Linked DNA regions of Homo sapiens: all the other regions are linked to region 2. The links are contacts of gene promoters, found by promoter capture Hi-C in blood cells and fetal thymus (Javierre and others, 2016). All regions are on one chromosome and are shown on one strand. The core of a region is centred on a gene start or on the middle of the fragment in contact, and the rest is flanking DNA. Distances in the headings are between cores, read along the strand shown.

The links. Contacts are between HindIII fragments. The CHiCAGO score rates a contact against its expected background, and 5 or more counts as called.
Region 1: a fragment that was not itself captured here is called in contact with the fragment with the promoter of ASB15-AS1 in region 2 in 1 of 17 cell types (fetal thymus); the score reaches 5.7 in fetal thymus.
Region 3: a contact is called between a fragment that was not itself captured here and the fragment with the promoter of ASB15-AS1 in region 2, in 3 of 17 cell types (M2 macrophages, fetal thymus and naive CD8 T cells). The highest score is 5.3, in M2 macrophages.

The regions. Positions count from the first base shown.
Region 1 is chr7:123,902,214-123,906,508 of GRCh38, reverse strand. No RefSeq gene overlaps it. Among named protein-coding and RNA genes, the nearest start is that of SPAM1, 21 kb to the left of the region's middle. The HindIII fragment of the contact is 275 bases long and covers 2,189-2,463 here.
Region 2 is chr7:123,622,010-123,626,730 of GRCh38, reverse strand. It overlaps ASB15-AS1 (ASB15 antisense RNA 1), which reads left to right and starts at 1,774. Exons shown (of 5, transcript NR_111922.1): 1 at 1,774-1,835; 2 at 3,571-3,757. ASB15 (ankyrin repeat and SOCS box containing 15) reads right to left here. Exons shown (of 12, transcript NM_001290258.2): 8 at 1,917-2,162. The HindIII fragment of the contact is 15,446 bases long and covers 1-4,721 here.
Region 3 is chr7:123,881,702-123,886,310 of GRCh38, reverse strand. No RefSeq gene overlaps it. Among named protein-coding and RNA genes, the nearest start is that of HYAL4, 39 kb to the right of the region's middle. The HindIII fragment of the contact is 9,096 bases long and covers 1-4,609 here.

The DNA of each region.
Region 1 (4,295 bases), core at 1,077-3,576, 280 kb before region 2:
GAGGGCTTGGAAGAAGACAGGAAGATGAGGGGAAGCGTGGAACTTCCTAGAGATTTGTTGAATGGTTTTGACCAAAATGCTGATAGTGATATGAACAGTAAAGTCCAGGCTGAGGAAGTCTCAGATGGAAATGAGAAACTTATTGGGAACTGGAGCAAAGATTATTTTTGCTATGTGTTAGCAAAGAACATGGTGGCATTGTGCCCCTGCTGTAGGGATCTGTGAAACTTTGAACTTGACAGTGATGATTTAGGGAATCTGACAGAAAAAATTTTTAAGTAGCAAAGCATTCAAGATGCTGCTTCTAACAACATATGCTCATATGTGTGAGCAAAGAAATAACCTGAAACTGGAAGTTATATTTAAAATAGAAACAGAGTGTAAAAGTTTGGAAAATTTGCAGCCTGGCCAGGTGGTAGAAAAGAAAAGCCCATTTTAAGGGAAGGAAGTCAAGCAGGCTGTAGAAATTTGCATAACTAAAAGGAAGGCAAGTGCTAATTGCCAAGACAATGGGGAGAAGACCTGGAAGGCATCTCAGAGAATTTTGAGGTAGCCACTGCTATCACAGGCCCAGAGGCCTAGGAGGGAAGAATGGTTTTGTGGGCCAAGCCTAAGGCCCCACTACCTACCCTGTGCAGGCTCAGGAGACCACTCTGCATCCTGGCTGCTCCAGTTCCAGCCATGGCTCAAAGAGGTTCAGGTACAGTTGGGCCACTTCTTCAGAGGGTGAAAGCCATAAACTTTGGCAGCTTCCACATGGTGTTAAGCCTGTGGGTACACAGAGTGCAAAAGTTGAGGCTTGGGAGCTACTGCCTACATTTCAGAGGATGTATAAAAAAGCCTGGGTGTTAAGACAGAAGCCTGCTGCAGGGATGGAGCCCTTAGGAAGAACCTCTACTAGGTTGTGTGGAGGGGAAATGAGCGGTTGGAGCTGTGAGAAGAGGGCCACCACAGCCTCCAGACCCCAGAATGGTAGATCCACTGGCAGCTTGCACCATGTGCCCAGAAAAGCCACAGGCACTCAACACTAGCCTTTGAGAGCAACCATGGGAGCTAAACCCTACAAAGCCACAGGGGCAGAGCTGCCCAAGACCTTGGGAGCCCACCCCTTGCATCTGTGTGTCCTGAATATGGGATGTGCAGTCAAAGGAAATTACTTTGAACCTTTAAGATTTAATGACTGCCCTGCTGGATTTTGGACTTGCATGAGATCTGCAGCCCCCTTTGTTTGGCCAATTTCTCCCTTTTGGAATGAGATTATTTTCCCAATGCCTATACCCCCATTGTATCTTGGGTGTAACTAACTTGTTTTTTATCTTACTGGCTCATCAGCAGAAGGGACTAGCTTTGTCTCAGATGAGACTTTGGACTTTGGACTTTTGAATTAATGCTGGAATGAGTTATGACTTTGGGGGATGTTGGGATTTTACGAAGTGAAAAGGACATGAGATTTGGCAGCAACCAAGGTGGAATGATATGGTTTGGATCTGTGTCTCCACCCAAATCTCATGTGAAATTGTAATCCCCAATGTTGGAGGTGGAACCTGGTGGGAGTTGATTAGATCATGGGGGTGCATCCTTCATGAGTGGTTTAGCACCATCCCTTTGGTGCTATTCTCATGATGGAGTTCTCATGAAATCTGGTTGTTTAAAAGTGTGTGGCATCTCCCTACCTTTCTCTTCCTCCTGCTCTGGCCATGTGAAGTGTGGGCTCCTTTTCACCTTTCATCATTATTGTAAGTTTCCTGAAGCTTCCTCAGAAGCCAAACAGATGCCAGCATTATGTTTCCTGTACAGCCTGTGGAACTGTGAGCTGATTAAACCTATTTTTCTTTATAAATTACCTAGTCTCAGGTATTTCTTTATAGCAATGGGAGAATGGACTAATACAGCCTATCACAGAAATTTGGTACTGAGGAGTGGGGAACTGCTACAAACATACCTAAAAATATGGAAGCATCTTTAGAACTGGGTAATAAACAGTGGTTGGCAGAGTTTGGAGAGCTCAGAGAAGACAGGAACATGATGGAAAGTTTGGAACTTCTTAGAGACTGGTTAAATGGTTTTGACCAAAATGCTGATGCTGATATGGACAGTGAAGTCCAGGCTGACAAGGTCTCAGATGAAAATAAGGAACTTACTGGGAAATGGAGCAAAGGTCAGCTATGGTATGTCTTAGCAAAAAGCTTTGCTGCATTCTACTCATGCCTAGGGATCTGTAGAAGTTTGAACTTAAGAATGATGACTTAGGGTATCTGGTGGAAGAAATTTCTAAACAGAAAAGCATTCAAGATATGACCTACTTCTAACAACATATGCTCAGATGCAGGAGCAAAGAAATGCCTAAAAGTTTGAATTTATATTTAAAGGGGAAGCAGAGTGTAAAAGTTTGGAAAATTTGCTGGCTGGCCATGTGGCAGAGTAAAACAAAAAGCATTAACAGGAGAGGAAATCAGGCAAGCTTTGGAGCAACCAGTTGCTAGAGATTTGCGTGACTAAAAGAAGCCAAGTGTTAACAGACAAGACAATGGGAAAAGGCCTTGAAAGTATTTCAGAGATTTTCTAGGCAGCCCCTCCCATCACTGTCTCAGAGGCTTAGGAGGACTGAATGGTTTTGTGGGCTGGCCCTGGGGTACTACCACCCTGCACCACCACAGCAGGCTGCTTCTTGCATCCTGAAGCCTTGGGTCAAAAGGCCCCAGGTATAGCATGGACCACAGCTCTGGAAGGTGCAAGCTGTCAGCCTTGGCAGTTTTCATATGATGTTAATAGGAACTCAGAATACAAGAGTGAAGGAGCATTGGCAGCCTCCACATAGATTTCAGAGGATGTAAAAAAAAAAACAAACCTGGGTTTCCAGGAAGAAACCTGTTGCAGGGGCATAGCCTTCATAGAAATACTCTACAAGGGTGGTGCCAAGGGGAAAGATAGGGTTGCAGCCCCCACACAGAGTCCCCAATGGGGCACTGGCTAGTGGAACTATGGGAGGTGGGCTGTCACCTTCCAGACCCTAGAATAATAGATCCAACAGCAGCTTGCATCCTGAGCCTAGAAAAGCCAAGAAGTAGAGCTGCCCAAGGCATTGGGAGCCCACCTCTTGCACCACTGTGCACTGGATGTGAGACATGGAGTCATAGAAGGCTATTTTGGAGCTTTAAGATTTAATGATTGCTCTGCTGGGTTTCAGACTTCTGTGAAGCCTGTAGCTCCTTTCTTTTGGCCAATTTCTTCCTTTTAGAATGGTAATGTTTACCCAATGCCCATATCGCCATTGTATCTTGAAAGTAAAATACTCGTTTTTTGTTTGTTTGTTTGTTTTATTTACAGATGCATAGGTGGAAGGAACATGCCTTGAGTCTCAGATGAGATTTTGGACTTCAGACTTTTGAGTTAATGCGGGGATGAGTTAAGACTTTGGAGGGCTATTGAGAAGGAATGATTGTATTTTGAAATGTCATAAAGACTTGAGATTTGAGGGCCTAGGGCAGAATGATATAGTTTGGATGTTATCCTTTCTAAATCTCATATTGAATTATAATCACCAATGTTGGAGGTGGGGCCTTTTGGGAAGTGATTGGATCACTGGGGCAGATTTCTCATTATTAGCTTGGCACCATCCTCTTGGTTCTGTCCTTGCACTACTGAGTGAGTTCTCATGAGATCTGGATGTTTAAAAGAGTGTGGCATCTTCCCCCTTACTCTCTTGCTCCTTCTCTTGCCCTGTGATGTGCCTGCTCCTGCTTCACCTTCTGCCATAAGTAAAAACTCCCTAAGGCCTCCCCAGAAGCCAAGGAGATGCCAGTGCCATGTACAGCCTGCAACACTGTTGGCCAAATAAACCTCTTTTCTTTATAAATTACCCAATCTCAGATATTCCTTTAAAGCAATGCAAAAGCACCCTAGCACACGGGAGACAATATAGAACCAGTTGAAAGAACAAATTGAACTACATGATCTGAGATCTTGAATCAGTCTCTTAGTTCTGAGAATAATTTTCTTAAACAGCTGTGTCTCATTTTAGATGATGATGTTATAGGTAGGTTTCTATTAAAGTAAGGCCTCTATATTGTGTAGGCAAACAAGTATTAAGTTCAGAGACATTTTTATGGATGCAAAAGATAAAGATAGTTGTCTGGAGTGGTTTATGAGCTAGTTTTTTTTTTTAATCAGAAGCATTTTTAGTTAAAGTTGCAATCTGGCAGAGTTATTTAAATTGTAGTTTGGATCAGGTGTGTCAGTGAAATTCTTTAGGAGTCCCTATTTTATAGGCATGAAGGACATCTGTCTATATAGGT
Region 2 (4,721 bases), core at 525-3,024:
AAACCCCCACAAAACCTGTTGTGTTCCTTTCTGGTTAGTACTTAAAAAGTATAGAATTAAGGGCCTCCATGTTTTCTATACTTTCAATAAACAGTCATGCATGCAGCATGGTTTGTTTTATTAAAATCTTTGGGCCAAAAATCATGAGAGAAACTAAGTCAATTTTCATGACAGGCAAATTCTTCTGAAAAAGGCTCATTAGACTTTTTAATTTAAAGACAGTAGTTTCTTATTTTATTTATTTATTTATTTATTTATGTTGACAGAATCTCACTCTGTCGACCAGGCTGGAGTGCGGTGGTGTGATCTCAGCTCACTGCAGCCTCCGCCTCCTGGGTTTAAGCAGTTCTTCTGCCTCAGTCTCCTGAGTAGCTGGGATTGCAGGCATGTGCCACCACAGGGTTTCGCCATGTTGGCCAGGCTGGTCTTGAACTCTAGGCCTTAAGTAATCTACCCACCTTGGCCTTCCAAAATGCTGGGATTACAGGCATGAGCCATGGTGCCCGGCCCCCTCTATTTTAACTTAACAAATACTTACAGTTAATAAAGTATTAACAAATACTTTATTGCCCTCTATGTGCAATCAGTGTGTGTGACCCTAAGAAGAATAAGTGTGACTACTCTAAGGAGCTTAGAGGGGAAATGAAACAAAATATCAGACAGCACAAACTGTATGATATTCCAGTGACACTGACATTAAGACAAGGAGACATGATGTAGGGGACTGTGGCTCTGCTGCTTATGGTGAGAGCTGGGGGCAAGCCGTTTACTTCCGTGCACCTCCATCTCCACATCTGTGAATGATTAATACAGCTTACTTCACAGGGCTTATTTGAAAATTAAACGTGGTTGTATTGGGACACCTCAAAAATGTTAGTCTTTTTCCTACAGGGAATCACTGGGGATCATGCGGTTCTAGAGGTCATTTGCAGATGAGGACGCTGAGGACCAGATATTTAAGGAATAAGGCTAGGGTCTCACAGTGAGTAGTGGCTCAACCAGTTTAGGAGTCAGGTCTCCTTAACTCATGGTTCTGTAGTTGTATAAAACACCTGGAGGGTTTAAGAAAGGGCAGTGTCACAATCTGTTGGAAAGAATTAGGAAAGGATTTAGGGAGGAGGTGTCTCAAGAGATTGACTTTGAATTGTGCTGAAGAGATAAAGGCAAGGACCTGACCCAAACCCTGCAAGGTACGTTTGGGAATACTGCTAGTATATTTTGACTGGAGTGTAGGATACAAGATGGGAGCAGTGAGGGATAAACGTGGTAAAACAATTTGAGATGATGCAATAGGGATTGTTTTTTGGATAGTTGACACTATTGTAGCTGCCCTATAGGGAGAGGAGCCAAGTTGCAGTATGTACTGTGATTCTCTGATGGGAGACTAGAAACCCAGAAAATGGTTAGAAACTATTTGCACTGGTCCAGGGAGAATTGAGGGACCTGATCAGGATGGCAGATGGATTGCAATGAGAGGACAAGAGAAACGCTACAAGAATTTGCAACTGATTGGATTTAGGAAAGCAGGTGATGGAGGAATTAGAGATAAATACGATCTTTCAATCCTGTTGAGAGAAATTATTACATTAGAAGAGTAGAAAAACAGGAGGAATTCAGTTAAGGAGAAGATGAGCATGAGGCCCTGATGGGCCATCTATGTGCAGATTGAACTGTCTCTCGAGAGAGCAATCAGGACTGGGCTTGTAAATTCGTAGGTCACAATGTATAGGGCTTAGCTGAGTTGTAGAATAAGGGTCTACTGAGGGACCAGGTGGGAAAACCTGATGCCAAGTTCCATTCAGCAGAGGAAGAGGAGCTCCCCTAGTTACATTCAGGTGAGGAAGAGTGATGAATGGAGAAAAGGAGAGTTCGAGAGGCAGGACAAAAGTCAGGAAGTGTAACTCCTTTTCACATACCTTTGTGGATTAGATGTTCTAACACGTCACAGTGACCATACTCGGCAGCGACGCCTAGTGGTGTGACTCCAAATCCATCTCTCAGGTGGACATTGCCTCCATGTTTCAGCAGCAGAGCTACGATATCTTTTCGGCCTTGCTTGGCTGCTTCATGCATTGCTGACCATCGCTTGACACAGGGCTGGTCTAGGCTAGTGTTATGTTTGATCAGAGTCGACACCATGTCATAGGAGCCCTTTTTCACAGCTTGAAAATGATTGTTAAAAACAACAGTAAGTATATTAACACAAATACCTTAGGTGGTATTAAACTAATTACTAAATTTAATATTGAAATAGATACTAGCTAGTAACTTTTTTTCTACAAGGAAAATAATGTATTTCTCATATCCCTTCTGTTTCTCATACCCAAGTTTATATTTGTGAAATATAAGTTTACAAGATGACACTACCTTTTCTTTAAGACCTGGAGGAGGGGTAAGAGTTTCACAGAAAATAACACGTATCACTAGGATAGGATGCTGTGTGCCCTCTTTCCAAATTTTAATTTCTTCACCAACAAAATGGAAATAACACTTGTTGTTGGGTTGTACAAATTAAATAATGTATGTAAAATTCTCAGTGTAGTACCTAGTACATAACAGGAGCTCAGTAACTGGCTATTATTATTATATCACTCCTAGGACCCAGGAACCTCATATGTAAATCATGTTCATCAGGTTTCCCCTATAGAAACAGGGTTTTTTCCCCTTGCCGCAAAAGATAGCAGCAAGTATTGAATGAACTTCTCTTTCTTATATATGTATTTTCTTTCCTTTCTCTTTCTTTCTTTCTTTCTTTCTTTCTTTCTTTCTTTCTTTCTTTCTTTCTTTCTTTCTTTCTTTTCTTTCTTTCTTCCTTCCTTCCTTCCTTCCATTCTTTCTTTCTTCTTTTCTTTTCTTTTTTTTTTTTTGAGACAGAGTCTCGCTCTGTCGCTCAGGCTGGAGTGCGATGGCACAATCTCAGCTCACTGCAACCTCCACCTCCTGGGTTCAAGCAATTCTCCTGCCTCAGCCTCCTGAGTAGCTGGAATTACAGGCGCATACCACCAAGTCTGGCTAATTTTTGTATTTTTAGTAGAGACAGGGTTTCACCGTGTTGGTCAGGCTGGTCTCAAACTCCTGACCTCGTGATCTGCCCGCCTTGGCCTCCTAAAGTGCTTGGATTACAGGTGTGAGCTACCACGCCCGGCCCTCTTTCTTACATTTTTAATGGGTGATTATCAATTAGATTGTTTAGAATCTACATAGGCCAACTGTTCCCAGTGAGTGAAGTAAGTGACCGTTAATGTAGTACAATTAAGGAGGTTCACCAAATCAGTTGTCCCTCTCCCTCTCTGCTCATCTCTAATGGCTGAAATTATACTGTTACAAGGTTTTCCCCTTTTGGATTATTAAGAGATTGTCCCCATTTAGATGTATACACTTCTAAAAATGTAACTTTTTTTTCCTTTTAAGTAAAATCTTATTAAAATACAGATTAGGATGAGTGCTGCCCCTACAAATGGAGATGTACACAGTTACATTCACTCATTCATTCATTCACTCACTCATTTCCTATTCAGTTAATACGGCTAGCTCCACTAAAGGCTCTGTGTTATGCACTGTGGACAACAGGAAGAAGAGACAGATTTGGATCTCACTCGTAGAGTTTATGGCCTAGAGAAGAAGCCTATGCTGCCTTCTATTTAAAGAGAGACTCAAAGTCTGGGCCTGTACTGGGAAACGTAGAAGAAGATATGAGGCCACATGGAACATTCTGGGGTAACCAGGAGGCAGAACGCAGAAAGGATCTAAAGCCAAGGCAAGGAAAGCAGCTCCCAATGTGGTAATGGGAGGATGAAGACGAACTTTGCCTACTTCATTTGGGAGCAGGCAAGCCATCCCTGCAGGAGATGCCCGTTTTTCTCCCTCTCCTTGTCTAAAGTAGAACCTGTTGACAAATGCCTCTCTCTGAATTGCCCAACTGTCACTGGCAGCTCTAATTACAGTGAATTACCTCATGCTAGCTGGTGTTATTGCAGAGCAAACATCAAGTAAGCTAAACAAACTAAGAGAAATGTGTCCTCATGGATCTTCTTGCTCTGATGGCAGTTTTTATAATTAGAAAAAAAATGTATTAAAATAATGAGCCTGTTCCCTCATAATCTTTTTACCTTTTGTCTGACTCAGAAAACATATGGATTAAAATAGTTTCTCTTCATGAAAATAACTGCATAAATGGGCCATCTTCAACTTAAGATAGTTTTTAAAAAATCAAAACTTCACTTCCAATTTAATTTTTTGAAATCAAGAATGTATTTCCCATAGAAATAATAATGCAAATGGTAGGAAATCCCTTCCAAGCTAACTCATGAAGACATTCTTAACCAATAAATGACTGAAATAATGAAAACTCATAAAGCACAGTATTGGTGTAACATAAATGATTAAGTAAAATAATTTAAAAATGTCTTGTTTTACATGTGGATTATATATATGTTTACATATTATATATAAATTTTTTTCTCTAGAACTTAAAATTCTAAAATCTAGAATTCTTTAGAATTTTTTCAGAAATGTTCAAATTATTTATTAATTTTTAAAATGTATAGCTTCAATAGTAATGCTTAAAACTGACTTTAAGTTGAAGAGTTTAGGGAATTAGATTAAGAATTTTGCATAGATGATAGGCAAGGGTTATCTTGATTATCTTGACAAGGACTGCTGGATTAAAAGCGGAAATGGAGTGAAGAAGATGTGTATTGATTTGTGAGAAAGAAAATGTC
Region 3 (4,609 bases), core at 1,268-3,767, 260 kb before region 2:
TAGCAATACTAAACTTTTAGATCCATGAACAGATGTTTTTCCATTTATTTATCTTCTTTAACTTTTTCAACAACGTTTTGTAGTTTTCACAATATAATTTTGATATTTTGTTAAATTTATTTCTAAATATTTTATTTTGATGCTATTATAAATAAAATTGACTTTTTAATATTATTTCAGATGGCTCACAATTTATCTTTACATATTGACCTTTATCCTGCAACCCGGCTATAATTGTTTATTAATTCTAATAGCTTCTAAATTCCTTAGGATTTTCTGTATATAAAATCATGTCATCTGCAAATAGAGATCGTTTTACTTCTTCCTTTTCAATCTGAATGACTTTTACTTATTTTTCTTGCCCAATTGACCTGGTTAGAACTTCCAGTATCATGTTAAATACAAGGGGCAAAAGCCCCTTATATCTTGGTGGGTTTTTTTCCTACTCTTAGTGGGATAGCAACCAGTCTTTCACCACTAAATATGATGCTAGCTATGGGTTTTTGTTGGTGCCTTTTATCAGATTGAGGGAGTTCTATCCTTTTTCTTTCTTTTTTTTTTTTTGAGTATTCTTATCAGGAAAGGGAGTTGAATTTTGTTAAATGTCTTTTCTGCATCTATTGAAACTATCATATCGTTTTTGTTCTTTGTTCTATTGATATGGTGTACTATATTGACAATTGATTTTTAACTGACAAACCACTTGCATTCCTGTGATAAACTCTACTTGATCATGCCGTGTAATTCTTTTTAAATGTTGCTAGATGTAGTTGGCTAGTATTTTGTTGAGGAGTATTCCATTTATATTCATAAAATATATTGGTCTATAATTTTTTGTAATGCTTGTGTCTGGTTTTTGTATGAGTGTGATACTGGTTTTACAGAGTAAGTTGAAAAGTGGTCCTCCCTCATATACTTTGAAAGATTTTCTTTTTAAATGGTATTAATTTTTCTTTAAATGTTTGATAGAATTCACCAGTGAAACCATCTGGGCATGAGCTTTTCTTTGTGTATAGTTTTGCTTGTTTGTTTTGCTTTATTTTGCTTTTACATATTCAATCTCTTACTTATTCCATGTCTATGGAGATTGTCTTATTAAGTGAGTTTTATAATAATAGCTTGTGTCTTTCTAGGTATTTGTCCATTTCGTCTAAGTTATCTAACTTATTGGCATACAAATATTCATAATATTCCTTTATAATTCTTTATTTTTCTGTAAGAGAAGTGGTAATATCTTCTCCTTCATTTATTTTCTTTTTCTTTTCTTTCTTTTTTTTTTTTTCTGAAACAGGGTCTCACTCTTTCACCCAGACTGGAGTGCAGTGGTGTGATCATGGTTCACTGCAGCCTAACCTCCCAGGCTCAAGCAATCAATCCTCCCACCTCTACCTCCTAAGTAGCTGAGACCACAGATGTGCATACCATGCCTGGTTAATTTTTTTATTTTTTGTAGAGACGGGATCTCCCTATGTTACCCAGGTTCATCTTGAACTCCTGAGCTCAAGTGATCCTCACACCTCAGCCTTCCAAAATTCTGGAATTACAGGCATAAGCCACTGTGCTGGCCCTTCTTTCATTTCTAATTCTTATAATTTGAGTCTTCTTTTTCCCATGTCAATCTGGTTAAAGGTTTCTCTGTTTTAGCTTTTCAAAGAACTAGCTTTTGTTTTCCTTGATTTTCTCTACTGGTTTTTTATTCTCTATTTCATTAAGTTCCACTCTGATCTTTATTTTTTTTCCTTTTATTAATACTTGCTTTAAGTTTTGCTTACTCTCCTTTTTCCATTGTCTTATAGTGGAAGGTTAGGTTATTCATTTGAGATCTTGTTTATAAAATATGGATATTTATAGTTACAAATTTTCCTCTCAGCACTACTTAAGCAGCATTACACAAGTTTTCATATGTTGTGTCTTGATTTTTATTTGTCTTGAAGTATTTTCCAATTTCTCTTGGGATATGTCTTTAACCCACTGATTATTTAGGAGTGTGTTGTTCAATTTTCACATATTTGTGAGTTTCCCAAATTAATTTATGCTACTTATTTCTAACATCATTCCATTGTGACTGGAGAACATACTTTAATTACTTCTATACTTTTACATTTATTGAGATTTGTTTTATGGTCTAGTATTCGGTTTGTTTTTGAGAATGTTCTATGTGTACTTGAGAAGAACGCATATTCTTTTTTTATTTGGGTGGAATTTTCTATAGATGGCTGTTACATCAAGTTTGTTTATAATGTTGAAGTATTTTGTTTTCTAGTTATCTTCTGCCTAGCCATTCTATTCATTATTTAAGTCTCCATCTATGATTGTTTGATTGTTGAATTGTATATATCTCCCTTCATTTCTGTCAGTATTGCTTCATATATTCTGGTTATCTGATATTAAGTGTACATATGCTTAGAATTGTTATATCTTTCTGATAGATTAACTATTTTTGAGGACTTTGGCCTATGAGGGTATAGCAAAATTTATAGTATTAATTTCTCTAGAGTGGTCTTATTCAACTTTTTCATTATTTAGTTCCTTAAAAGGAAGTATACGTCTATTTTCATTCAAACACGCAATCTCCTTTGACACTGAAGCCTTTATAAGGAATAAATTAGCATTTTGGTTCCACAAAGAAAACTCAAAAATAAGACAACACTTTGATCTTGAATATAGAAAGCAATGAAGTCAGTTATTTTGGTATACTGATTACAATCGTTTTAGTAATAAATGAGTCTGGTTTTTCTGTGCGAATCAGTGACACATTAATAGCTTATTAGATGGTAAATGCTAGTTAACAATCATAACATTAGGAAAAAATAGAAGCAGAAAGTCTCTGCTGATGTGGTGCCATTAGACAAAGTTTTATATCTTAAAAAAAACACACATGTTGTTGATCAGAACTATCAGAAGTATCTCTTACATCAAGAAACAAAGTAAATGCTTGATAATGTGCTCAACTCAATTATCCAGTTTTTCTAACTCCTGCACATATTTCAATAATGAATGTCATATTTATAAATCATTTTGGAAAGTACATATTCTGAGTAATGAGAAGTTGATACAGTTTTAGGTTATCTCTACATATTGTCTATTGTAAATAGTACTTCAGTTAACACAGGGAGGCTTATATCTCTTTGAGATCCTGATTTCAATTCTTTTAGGAAAATACTCGGAAGAGGGATTGCTAGATCATATGGTAGTTCTATTTTTAATTTTTTTTAGGAACTTCCATACTGTTTACCCTAGTGGCTGCCTCATTTTTCATTCTCACCAACAATAAGCAAGGGCCCCAATTTCTCCACATTCTTGGCAACACTTGTTGTCTTTTGTGGATAGCAATAAATTTGACAGCAGAAAATTACTTTTCTTGGTGTATTAGTCTGCATTCTCCCGAGAAACAGAACCAATAGTGTGTGTGTGTGTGTGTGTGTGTGTGTGTGTGTGTGTGTGTGTGTTTATCAGAGAGAAAGAGAGAGAGAGATTTACTCTAATAAATGGGTTCACAGTTATGGAGGCTGAGAAGTTCCAAGATCTGTAGTTGGAAAGCTGGAGGTTCAGGAGACTCAATGATACAGGACTGAGGATTAGGTGGGCTGATGGCATAACTTCAGTCTGTGTCTGAGTCTGAAGACAGGAAAAGACCAATGTCTCAGCTCAAACACAGAGCTTAAGTCTCCCTTACACTGCCTTTGTTCAGGCCTTCAACAGATTGGATGAGGCCCACCACACTGGGGAGGACAATCTGCTTTACTCAGTCTTCTCGTGTAAATGTTAACCTCATTCCAAAACGCCCTCACAGACACGCTCAGAATAAACACAGTCTATGGCTCAGTCAAGTTGACACATACAATTAACCACTATGCTAGGTATCTTAGTGGAAGAGAATGCCGAATGCAATAAGTAGTCCCAGTGATAACCCAAGAACTTTCATTTTCCAGAAACAGAGAACAAAGTCTCCCATTTTAAGTTTGTACAATTGAAGTGATACTAGAAATAAAAAATTGATAGCTCCTGGGCCCTTAGGAGGGAACAAAGTGTCCAGTTCATATATGAATTTTCAGTAACATTCAGATTTTTCCAAGTTCTTAAGATCAGCATTAAATACAAAAGTAAGAGTGTCTGTATGTACTTAGTTCTCTGGTAGGAATGAAAACCATAATACTAACATTCATTTTGGCACAAAATTAATTTTTCCAATTATTAAATCTTTATCATATAAGTTTATAATTATAATATTGTAACAGACCTGCTGTTCAAGGTTTAGAATAAGCAAAATCTCAAAAACAATAACAGCACCATATATGATTTTATATTTGTTGTGTGTGGCTTCAAATGGCTTCTCCTGGTTTCCTTTTATTGATGAAATTATCATTTCCTTGAATCATTTATGGCTTTTTATCTGTAATAGAATTTCAAACCCAGTACATTCTTAAGACCCTTAGAATTTCAGGCCCAGTACATGCTTAAGAAACTTTAGTTTAGCTGTCTCCAGGAAGTCTTTCTAGAATGTGACCAAAAATATATTTCTAATATCTGAGATCATGAGTTTTTCTCAATATGATTAGATGGCAGTCAAAATAAAGTCTAAACAAAATAATTTTTAGATATCTTTTGA